Regions from separate parts of the Homo sapiens genome. Here regions 1, 2 and 3 are each linked to region 4. Evidence: promoter capture Hi-C in human tissues and cell types (Jung and others, 2019). All regions are on one chromosome and are shown on one strand. Each heading gives the region's core, a stretch centred on a gene start or on the middle of the fragment in contact. The rest is flanking DNA. Distances are from core to core; before and after follow the strand shown. Region 1 has its middle 110 kb from the start of CBLN4. Region 2 has its middle 85 kb from the start of CBLN4. Region 3 has its middle 68 kb from the start of CBLN4. Region 4 holds the start of CBLN4 (cerebellin 4 precursor).

Region 1 (3,036 bases), core at 55-2,554, 110 kb before region 4:
TACAATTCTTTGTGAAACTATTGGAATAATGTCTGTCTTCTACCATGCTATACCCTCCATGAAGGCAGAGTCTCTGTTCATTTTTGCTCCCATTATACCCTGGCTCAGTGTCTGTAATATGGTGGGTGCTGAATGCATACCTGTGGAATGAATGAATACGAGTGAATTACTCTATGATGATTTTATTCGTGTCATTATCTTACTGAGTGCCTAATAACAGCTGTGCTAAATTCTAGGAAGAGAAAAGTGCATGGTCTCCATTCTCTCACAGTCAAGAAATCTGTTTAATTTCCTTAAGTGAGCATTTCTCTAAAAGATTTTTTGAGCATAGAAGAACTTTTAACACCATGGCACAGCTATTAACATCATATGGTATTAGATTCTGCAAAAAAATTTAGAGATTGCTGTGTTAGAATTCCCATGGGAGCATGGATCACATATCATCAATTCATTTGTTCACCTATCCAAGTGTCCATCTGCCCAACCATCAAGCATTCCACCCAACATATATTTCATGCAGCTTGTGATGTGTCTGGCACTAGAGACTTAGAGCTGAGTGAGATGAGCTCCCTGCCACATGGTGCTTACATTCAGGTGGAAATGATATGCAATACAGATTTAATGTTTGCGGGTAGACCACAAGGTCAGGAGTTCAAGACCAGCTTGGCCCAGATGATGAAACCCTGCCTCTACTAAAAATACAAAAAATTAGCCAGGCGTGATGGCAGGTGCTTGTAATCCCAGCTACTTGGGAGGCTGAAGCAGGGAATTGCTTGAACCTGGGAGGCAAAGTTTGCAGTGAGCCGAGATTGCACCACTGCACTCCAGCCTGAGCAGCAGAGCAACACTCCATAAAAAAACAAAAAACAAAAAACAAAAAAAGAATTATATATATATGCACATATTTTAACTAATCTAGATCCATATTCAAATAACAGTATATGCTTCATGTGCGTTATAACAGAGTTTGCCCATTTCTTCCCTCCTGTCTCTGTGATGTTACTATAATTCATTTCACTTACCCATATGCTATAATCACCAAATACATTGTTACTATTATTACTTTAGACGGATGCTTATCTGTTAGATGAATTAAACATAAGGAAACTGATATAGTTTGGATATTTGTCCCCACCCAAATCTCATATTGAAATGTAATCCCAGTGTTGGTGGTGGGGCCTGGTGGGAGGTGATTGGATCATGGGGGTAAATTTTTCATGAATGGTTTAGCATCATCACCCTTGGAACTGTCCTCACAATAGTGAGTGAGCTCTTGTGAGATCTGGTCATTTAAAACTGCAGCACCTCCCCGTTCTGTCTCTTGCTCCTGCTCTGGCCACGTGACATGTCTGCTTCCCCTTCCGCTTCCACCACGATTGGAAACTTCCTGAGTCCTCCTGAGAACCTGAGCAGATGTCAGCATCATGCTTCCTGTACAGCCTGCCTAACCATGAGTCAATTAAACCTCTTTTCTTTATAAATTACCCAGTCTCAGGTATTTCTTTATAGCAATGGGAGCACTGACTAACATAAAAACCCAGAAATTTTCTCTTCATTTATTTCTTTTATGATGCTCTTCCTTTCTTTATGTGGATTCAGTTTTCCGATCTGTATCATTTTCCTTCTGCCTGAAGAACTTTTAACATTTCTTCCAGGGCAGGTCTGTTGAAGATAAAGTCTTTCAATTTTTATTTGTTGATAAAGCTTATTTCTCTTTGCTTTTGAAAGATAATTTCACTGGGTATAGAATTTTAGAATTCCACCCCCCAACACTTTAAATATTTTATTCCACTCTTTTCTGGCTTGCATGGTTTCTGAAGTGAAGTCTACTGTAATACATATATTTGTTCCTTCATAGGTGAGATGCTTTCTCCCTCTATGGCTTTTTTGAGATTTCTCTCTGTTTCTCATTTTCTGCCGTTTGAATATGATATGCCTGTGTGTGTGTGTATTTGTGTGTGCATGTGTGTGCGTATTTTGGTATTTATTCCAATTGTTGTTTTCAGCGCTTCCTCTATGTGTGGTTTGGTGTCTATCATTAATTTTGTGGAGTTCTCAGCCATAATTCAATTATTTCTTCTGCTCCTTTTTCTCTTTCTTTTCCTTTTGGTATCCAATTACAAATATGTTACACCTTTTGTAATTGTACCACAGTATTTACTCTGTTTTCTACTTTTTTTTTTCTTCAATTTTCTTTTGTCTTTGCATTTCAGGTTGGGAAGTTTCTTTGACCTATCTTCAAGCTTGCTGATTTTTTTCTTTGTCTGTGTTCAGTTTACTGATGAGCTTGTCAAAGGCTTTCTTCATTTCTGGTGCTGTGTTTTTAATTTCCATTTGATTCTTGCATGTTGTCTTCTTTTTTTGAGAATAAGGGGTTAACACATTAGTTACAGTTATTCAACATTTTTTATCTGATAATTCCAACATCGGTGTCATATCTGAGTCTGGTTCTGATACTCGCTTTGACTCTTCAGACCATGCTTTTCTTGGTATTAGGAGCTGACGTGAATAGGCCTTTACTGTGTGGATTTGTCATAATATGGATAAGAATCTGACTGTTTTGTGTTTAATGTTTGCTGTAACTGTAGATACCAGAGGCTTCAAATTTGTCCTTGTTTTCTTCTCTCCTCTTAAGCTTATACTCCTCAGAGAGAGTCCTTGTTTTGGAGCTCTTTTAGCTGTAACACACTATCATTACACTGGAGTCCTGTTGGCATGGTAGTAAGTAATAGGGGAGGGGGAAACTTCTAAAATCTACCAGTTAAATCCCAGTCCTGTAGTGCACCTGTCTCCTGGGCTGTGACCTTCACAAGTGTTTCTCCATAGTTTTATTCACTCAGCCCCTACTCTCTTCCCTGAATGCAGCGTTCCCAGTCCATATTCTTGCAGCCATGACCCTTCATAACTATGTTTTACCCCTCTTAGGTGAGGCAGGAGGATTGGAGGGGCTGGAGTGGGAGAATGCCCTTTTACCAGCCGGGATAAAGCTCTGGGAATGTATTTATCCTGGAGAGGAGTCCCCGCTCCCCCACTTTT
Region 2 (3,038 bases), core at 341-2,840, 85 kb before region 4:
CTGTTTTGATAGCGTATACCTTTTACTGTTCAGAGAGGAAAATAAAAGGGAATCTGAACTCAAAAGATGACATAAGAAAGATGTACACTTTCTGTTCAATATCTTCTGGTTATTTTTGTTGTGGCTATTATTCTTTCACAAGGGTCGCTTCACATTGTGCCATCTCACTTTGCACCTTGGCTTAGAAGAAATTCATCGTGGTTGTCAGTGTTATCTTGGGGTTTCTTGAGCTCAAAAGATGATGCTAACCAATTTACCTTTTGAGTAGAATCATGGTCTCAAGCCTTACCCTGGTAAGCTTTCCTTCTGGATGAGGCTTAGACAGGGAGATCTGTAGGGAGCTCTCTGGGCAACTACCTGGGTCAAGAGTGAAATAGTCACGAGACCTTCACAGTGAAGTTGTAATATCAAAACGACTAGTTTGTGTAATTGACTATGGAAATTGGTCAATTCAATTAAAAATAGTCAGTGATTCTAAGTTGCATAATTGGAATCTTATTCTGCAAGACATGGGCTTCTTTAAGAACATTGAGTAACAGTTTTTCTGAGTGTCACTAGTTCCTTCAACACCTCATGAAATGGGGTGTGTGCATGCATGTGTGTGTGATGGGGCTTGAGGATAGGAAGGGTGAAGAGGAAATACCTTGTCAGTGCCATCCTGCTCCCTTGCAACTATCAGGCTATTCCTGTAATTTTTTGACTCTTTAAAAAAATTTTTAGCTCATTTAAAAAAATTAAAATGTTTAAATATATTTTATAATTGCAAAAATAATACAAGCCTGTTGTAATTTCAGGCCCAAATCCACTTCCTAGGTGCCACTTGTAACAGTTTGACATGTCCTTAAAGAATTTTTCAATGCACATATAAACATATACTAATGACATTTATTTTTAAAATAATTATACTACAACTTTTTTGTCATATTAATATAGCATCTTCCCATCTAAGCGTATATCATTCTACCTCATTCTTTTCAATGCTACATAAAATTCCATATATTCTCCAATTTATTTACTCATTTTTCTATGGTTGTACACTTAAGATGGTGATTCTTTGCAGAAAGAGAAAAAAAAACAGGCTGCAATAAATGACTGGTGTGTGTGTGTGTGTGTGTGTGTGTGTTTACATGGACTTTTAAATTCTTCCTCATGCTTCTATATAAATGAAAAATTTCACTTTCTTATGAAAACCCCCAAAATAGGGCCAATAGTTCCTTATAGAAGTTGATGCTTTCTGAATAGTTTCTTTTTCCTTTTTTTCCAGTTAATCCAACAACGTGTAGAGTTTATTCCTTAAGTGAAGTGGGCATTGTGTGAAACATTCCATTGCTTAATTACCTCTGAATCACTTGTCATAGCCCTAATAAAAATGTACACCCATGGCCGTGAATGCTTAATCACATTTGCTGGAAGGAGAGTAAGCTATTGAGAGAGAAGAACAGGAGGTTGTTAAATGTTGGGTCTTGTTTAGAATATAAAACACTTTCTCCACACTGGCAATGAAGTGCCTCGCCTGAGACCTGTGGGTTGGGAGTTACAGAGCTGGTACTGGTGGTCTCCAGAGAATCCCAGGCCCTTGTCTGAACATGTAGGGCTTGGGGGTTGGAGACTGGAAGAGGGGAGTGTTTAATTTTACAAAAGTATTCTGCTTCTTATAAAAGATCAGCCTCTGGCCTTCTTTCAGATAACCTGTTTAATTAAGTTCAACAAATACTTACTGAAACCCTACAATATGCACATTCTTGGTACTGAGATCAACCGGTGATCAAAGCAGATAAGAAACGTACCTTCATGGAGTTTGCATGCGAGTAGCAGGGCACAGATTTGAACAAAGCCACTAATAAAGATACAGCATCAGAGAGGCCAAGAAATACAGTGTGTAGAGGCAAGTGACAGAGAGGGGTGGGATGGTTGGTGGTCAGGGAAAGGCCCTCTTCAGAGGAGCCAGCGAGTAGGGTTTAAATGAGGTGAGTAAATGGGCCAAGCAGTATCTTGGGACAGATCATCTGTTTAGGACCAAGGATCATTCATTAATTCTCCTGGTGAAGATGCTGCCTTCGCAGACTTGATCTTGGGAGTTTCTTCACTTCATGGCGAGCAAAATTTTTGAGAGATTTCCCAATAAGTAATCCTTGTTGTAGCTTTGCTATCCAGCATTAAGTACTCAATATCTACACGTAGCTAGTAGATACCATATTAGACAGCAAATATAAAGAACTTTCTATCTTTGTCAAAAATTGACAGTGTTGTACTAGAGGATTTTTAATGGTTAGATGCATTATTGCCAATAACAACAATACTGATGATGGTATGTAATGGTAATTCATGATACTGATATTATTTATCATTTACTAGGCATGTAATATATGCACTTTACATATATTATCTTATGCCAACCTCATCAAAACCCCATTTAAACAGGTAGATTTACTCTCATTCTACAAAGAGAATTCTCAGAGGGTTGAGTAAGTTACCCAAGGTAGTACTGCTAATAAATGGGGGAACTGGGGTTACAACACATTTTGGCTGAAATGAATGCCCATATTCTCAGCCACTGTAGTATGTGGCTTATGCTGCTTTTAGATCCATGGGATAGTTCCCAGAGCTGAAAAAAATTCCCAAAAGGGACAGACAGGATGGCTTTTAGTAGGGAGATGACTCTATTCTATTATGGAATAACTGGAATACTCAGTTGACATATCAACCACTTTAAACTTCTCTGCAGCTAAAAGTCTAATGAAAATTTCAACTGGTGTCCCCTTCTCAATATACTTTGTTGTTGTCTGTTGAAAACTTGTAACTGTACAAATGTACAGTGTCTATAGAGTAATAGGAGTCCCTGCAGTTGTGCAAGAAGCAATCTGAACAATGCTAGGTGGTGGCTAAGTTCTATGTGGTCTTTTGTTAAGTGTAGGGAGACTTTAAGACTTCCTAAAAGTAAGTGACTGAAGCTTGTCTAAGAAAAAGTAAAATATTTAACAGGTGCTCGTCAGTGATTCCTGCAGAAACCACCCACACATGCTGATATTTCAGGGCTG
Region 3 (2,933 bases), core at 5-2,504, 68 kb before region 4:
ACTCTGCATTCTCCCAAAACAAGCCATCTACAACAGAAACATTGGTAAACAATGCAAAACTTACTTAAGATTTCATAGGCTAGATTTAAGAAAGTGTTTACGTCAACACACTTTCAAGATCTTTGGATCTCATTATACTTTTGTGTGGCCTGCCACAGTTTCGTGGATGCTAGCAGAAGACATGAAACTCCTGGGTCAGAGACAAAAGGCATTTTGTTATTCATAGCAATAATAATTGTCAGAGTATCAGCATCTTTTTTTGTTGCCTGAGCCAAATCCCACAGGGTGACACAAAGAGAGCCAGATAACATCTGCACATGCAGCACATTGGTTACAAGAGAAGAATACCAAATTTAGGAAACTTGAATTTTTTAGAATTTAGTTTTTTAATTTTTTTAGAGATGAAGTCACCCAGGCAGGAGGCAGTGGTGTGATCATAGTTCACTATAGCGTTGAAGTAATCCTTCCACATCAGCCTGCCTAGTAGCTGGGACTACAGGCTTCACCATGCCACCATGCCTGGCTTTTTTTTTTTTTTTTTTTTTTTTTTTTAGTTTTTAAGAGAGAGGTTTCCCTGTGTTGCCCAGGCTAGTTTCGAAGTCCTAGTCTCTCAAGTGATCCTCTTGCTTCAACCTCCTGAGTAGCTGGGATTATAGGCCCAAAACACCATGCTCAGCTGAAACTTGAATATTTTCTAATGGGCAATAAGCCTGCCAGATATTTGCCTTGGGGTAAACATTGTCTTTTTTATATTAGAAATGAACAAATCTGCCATTTGCTCTGGAAGGAGACACTGCCTCTAACTTCCAAAGCTCTTTGCTATACAAGTGTCCTTGGAAAGACAGTCTGAGACAAAGGTCAGTGCAGAAACAGAAGAGACCAATGGAGAGCTAGCCTTCCATCACATGCCTGATAATAAATTCCTCAAAACCTTCACTACATCTCATTGAGTTCCATAATTTCTCTCTCCTATATCCTTACTGGCATTTTTCTTTCTTTCTCCTTCATGCTTCCTTTACAGAGCATTTGGTCTTTTTTTTCTGTTATCTGAGCAGTTCAGCTTTACTACCAAACTTGAATGCCCATATTTCTACAAACCCAAAGTCTCCGATTTTCCTTAGAAGGTGGTTTCACAGTCTTTTCTTAATAACCTAGAATGCTCTTTGGGGTTCATCGTTTATTCAAGTGGCTAATGAAGGTATCTCGTCCAAATCTATACTTCTCCCCATAAGAATGTAATTCTAGCATGCTGTGAATGTTCTTATAAAAAGTCTGTCCTGGGTATAGTGAGGATGTGAGTTAAGAGAAGTCAGTTTTTCCAGAGTGAAGAGAATGGGAATTGGTGTGGATGATTTGCAAGAGGAGAAGGAGCCATAGTGTTTGTAATGATTGCTTACATACTTCCTAATTTTCTGCTTCTTGATGTATCTTAATCTACTTTACCATTCTTCAGTGGTTGGGCATTTGGATGAGTTCCAGTGTCTTATAGTTGTAGAGAGCAAAGTAATCATGTCTGCAATATTACTGTGTTGTGAACATTATTGAAAGTGTGCTGGGTGCCTGACCTGGTGTTATTCTGGAGTTAATGAGGTAAATAAGGCATACCTTTATTTTCAAAGAGCTTATAGTCTAGTGGAGCAGACAAGCTTATGTGTGCAAACAGATCACTGACTATCATAGAGAGACTTAGTAAGTACTTGTTGAATTAATAGTTGCTCAATGAATGGGCCAAACTTATGTTCAGTGTCTATTGGATTCACTGGGGTGAGCTCCCGTGGAATGATGGGCTTCAGATACATGCTGAGTCTGGAGGATGGAGGAGGGAAAGGGGAGGCCCACTAGGCAGGATAAATGGAGAGAGTCAGATGAAGAGGTGAGAATATGTGGGATGGCTTTGAGAAACAAGTTAGTAATTTGGTTGTGGAGAGAAAGGTTGGGGAGTGTGGTTTGAGATCGAATAGTGGTGGACTTTGAATAATAGGCTTTGGTCTTTTGAATGATGTGAGGAGCCCCTGAAAATTATTATTTCCAAGGAGGCATGACATACTTTCTCAGATGTGGTGCATATTTGAGATCAAAAACTATTAATCTAATGGTTTAAAATACAAAATGGGAAATTCTTTGTGGCCTGATTGTAACGACATAGGGGAAGTTCAAATTGCATGTGTTTTAAATCTTTCTAGAAAGCAGAGTAGTAAGTCTTAAATAATCAGAGAACACTTTTTGGGGAGTGAAATCACAAAAAAATTTCCTTAACATAATGCAAATCAAACCTCCGTGTTCTAGGGAAACACTGGCAGAGAAGATACTTGAGAGGAGTCGGAGAGCAGCTTTTCTTTCATTGGCTTTGTGCTCCCATCGTAGTGTTTGCCTGTGTGTATTTGTGTGCTTCTATTCACGTGCAATCTAGAATTGATGAAGATTTGCTCATTAATCAACGAGTCTCTTTGGATTTCATAACCACGTTTGACTTTTACCAAATTTGTTATTTCAAAGCAGTAAGCCCAGTCTGTCACCACTTTCCCACACTGGCTCCTGTGATCAAGAATGAGTTAAGCATAGGAATGATTCTCTAATGTGGCATCTTATGGTGTGACAAAGCTAAAAAAAAAGGAATTTATATTCAGACAGACTGGGTCCAAATTCCAGCTCTTTTATTTACTAGGGATGGGACTTGGGCCAAGTTACCCAATAGCTTTGAACTTCATGTTTTCCTTGGTACAAATTATACAAAACACAACCCAATTACAGGATTTTAAGAATTAACTGGGACAAAATTTTAGTGTGTAATGGCCTCCATCCCTCCCTTCTTTGTATTCTCTTTCCATTCTTTCCCCTTCAGTAATTGTGTTAGTAACACAGTTACAGAGAATTTTCTGGGACATTTACAGACTGGCCTGAACCCTTGCACCATCCTATGATAGTTTTTCTTC
Region 4 (2,848 bases), core at 5-2,504:
GAAGAGAGTTACAAAGTGCAGAGAGGGATCAGGTGAAGATTGTGCTGGGCTTAGGGTGGGGCATCAAAGCTGGGTAAATGGTGGCCATCTTCAGAAGGCACTAGTTCACCTTGTTTGGTTGTAGCTTAGATAGGTAACTTTCAACATTTTAACAAATAGCATGGTACTAGCACCTGCCAGCCGGAACTGACACCGGCCTGTAGTCTCAGCTACTGGGGAGGCTGAGGTAGTAGAATCGCTTGAGCCCAGTAGTTTTGCATCTAGCCTGGGCAATATAGCGAGACCACCCCCCACCACAAGTAAAATAAAATCATAAAGTCAAAACACCTGATACTGGCCCCACTGGAGCAGAATCTGAAGGCCCCTGTGGCACCAAGTATTAACACTTTAGTTGAGAGATTATAGGGAGGTGAGGGTTAGGGGATTCCTCGTAGTGTCTTCAATTTTAACAGTTGGAGCTGGTGCTTATAGCTCAATGCCCGGCCCTTCTGAAGGAAGGGAAAAAGGCTGGAGACGAGGTTCACCTTGTTTTGTGGAGGGCTCGAATGCCACGCTCATGAGGGCGTCCTTCACTCAGGAAGGAATGGGAGCCGTCCATCCCAAGGACCTCCCTCAATAAACATCCCTTCCATTCATAACTAGCCAATGCCATTTTAGGAGCTCCGAATGCCTGGAGGGGATACTGTTTTGGTTAAAGATACCATACGTGTCTGCCCTCTGGCAGCTGGAAGTGTAGAAGAAATTGGGGAAGGGGCGCCATGACCCCACAGCATCACAGAATTGGAAAGCTGGCGGGATGGGGGTGGGGAGGACCTTAGTTAACGCCGCGCCCCCCTCTCAGAGAGGGTTAGTGACTCGGCCAAGTTCACGCAGCCGGGTCCAGACAGAGACAAACCTCCCTTCCCCGTGGTAGCTGCAGAAGAGGAAGGGAACTCTTGCAAATCAGAGGCCAAGATAGCAGTGGAGTGGCACGGGGGCGGAAAGCGCATCCAAAGGGGAGAAAAATGCTGTATTCCTAGGAGTGGGATTGTCTTTTATTTTTATTTTTATTTTTATTTTTTTATTGTTGTTGGCACGGTTTCGGAGGACTTATTCTTGCTGAGTTAACTCCCTCTCCCACTCTTTTTTTTGGCCATGCCTGGGGAGGATTCGCGGTGTGGGGGGAAGGCGCGCCCCTGCGGCTTCTGAGGCTCATCTTCCCGGAGCGGAAGGAAGGAATCAGGCACCTCCTCCCAGCCGCCCCCACGGGCTCTGGTCCGCCCCAAGGCTTCCCTGAGCTCGCCAGGCCCCAGGGCTGTGTGGGGCGGGCTCCCGGCCAGGCGCGGTCGGGACGCCCGCCGGTCCCCAGGTTCGGGGCAGCGCGCAGCGCGGGTCCGCGGCGGCTTATCCTTTTTCGCGACCCGGCCTGGCAGCGCCGCGCTCCGCTTGGAGGGCACTCGGCGGCAGAGTTCCGCGCTGGGAGGGGTGAGGGGACCAGCCGCCTCCTCTGCGGACTCAGATCGAGCAGGAGAGAGTGGGCGCGGAGCTGGGGCCAGCGCAGGGCCGTGGGCTCCTCTCTGGGCACGCATCCTTTACGCCACGGGCTTTCAGGGGCTGAGGGGCCTCGAACCTTGCCAATCACCAGTGCTGTGCGCCCCGCTTGCTTTGGGGTGCGTTAAACGTCAGGAGAGAGCTGCTCAGATGGGGTCACCAGACGCCTTCTCCCCCTTTTCTCGGAGCCCGCGGGTTGCGCGATAAGCCAACCCAGCCGGACGCTGCGCTCCTATAAATAGAGCGCGTGTGCCCGCTTCGCGCTCTCCGGGCTGCACGAGGGACGAGAAAGTTGTGCGCAGGGACTGGGGGCGGGCGGCCAGGCAGGAGAGGACCCCGCCGGACCAGCCGCCCTGAACGCTGCGCCCGGCGCCCTGGACCTGATCCTGCGAATCCGCGCTTTCGGTGCGAGGGACCTGGCTAGCCGCTGCCTCCCTCCCTACCTCTGGGTGACACCAGGTTTGGGGGATTTTTTTGACCAGGCGAAAGTGGGAGTCGCTGGCGTCCTGGCCATGAACACAGCCTCGCGTTCTTCTCAGCCTGGGAAGGACCTTCTGCCTCTGTAACTCGTCCCTGCCGCAAGCCAGACAGGACTGGCACCCGCGCCGCTGGGCACCCGCCACCCTTGTGGCTTCTCTTTGAGTCCCCTCTTTTTGTTCCTGCTCCGTGGTTTAGCTGGTGGTGCTTGAGTTTGGGGTGAGAATTTATTATTATTATTATTTTTTGCCTTGAGGTGTGAATGTGAGGGTTTGATGACTTTCAGATGTCTAGGAACCAGAGTGGGTGCAGGGGCCCCAGGCAGGGCTGATTCTTGGGCGGAGGAGAGTAGGGTAAAGGGTGCTGCATGAGCTCCTTAAAGGACAAAGGTAACAGAGCCAGCGAGAGAGCTCGAGGGGAGACTTTGACTTCAAGCCACAGAATTGGTGGAAGTGTGCGCGCCGCCGCCGCCGTCGCTCCTGCAGCGCTGTCGACCTAGCCGCTAGCATCTTCCCGAGCACCGGGATCCCGGGGTAGGAGGCGACGCGGGCGAGCACCAGCGCCAGCCGGCTGCGGCTGCCCACACGGCTCACCATGGGCTCCGGGCGCCGGGCGCTGTCCGCGGTGCCGGCCGTGCTGCTGGTCCTCACGCTGCCGGGGCTGCCCGTCTGGGCACAGAACGACACGGAGCCCATCGTGCTGGAGGGCAAGTGTCTGGTGGTGTGCGACTCGAACCCGGCCACGGACTCCAAGGGCTCCTCTTCCTCCCCGCTGGGGATATCGGTCCGGGCGGCCAACTCCAAGGTCGCCTTCTCGGCGGTGCGGAGCACCAACCACGAGC

The links. The method cuts DNA at HindIII sites, captures the fragments that hold promoters and counts their contacts. A contact is called where the count stands out against the background at its distance.
Region 1: a contact is called between a fragment that was not itself captured here and the fragment with the promoter of CBLN4 in region 4, in 5 of the 25 tissues and cell types used here (dorsolateral prefrontal cortex, hippocampus, lymphoblastoid cells and 2 more).
Region 2: a fragment that was not itself captured here is called in contact with the fragment with the promoter of CBLN4 in region 4 in 3 of the 25 tissues and cell types used here (dorsolateral prefrontal cortex, mesendoderm cells and stomach).
Region 3: a fragment that was not itself captured here is called in contact with the fragment with the promoter of CBLN4 in region 4 in 2 of the 25 tissues and cell types used here (dorsolateral prefrontal cortex and mesendoderm cells).

Annotation. Positions count from the first base shown.
Region 1 is chr20:56,113,172-56,116,207 of GRCh38, reverse strand. No RefSeq gene overlaps it. Among named protein-coding and RNA genes, the nearest start is that of CBLN4, 110 kb to the right of the region's middle. The HindIII fragment of the contact is 6,021 bases long and covers 1-3,036 here.
Region 2 is chr20:56,088,606-56,091,643 of GRCh38, reverse strand. No RefSeq gene overlaps it. Among named protein-coding and RNA genes, the nearest start is that of CBLN4, 85 kb to the right of the region's middle. The HindIII fragment of the contact is 4,002 bases long and covers 1-3,038 here.
Region 3 is chr20:56,072,088-56,075,020 of GRCh38, reverse strand. No RefSeq gene overlaps it. Among named protein-coding and RNA genes, the nearest start is that of CBLN4, 68 kb to the right of the region's middle. The HindIII fragment of the contact is 4,553 bases long and covers 1-2,933 here.
Region 4 is chr20:56,003,925-56,006,772 of GRCh38, reverse strand. CBLN4 (cerebellin 4 precursor) reads left to right here and starts at 1,254. Exons shown (of 3, transcript NM_080617.6): 1 at 1,254-2,848. The coding sequence starts at 2,602. The HindIII fragment of the contact is 15,736 bases long and covers 1-2,848 here.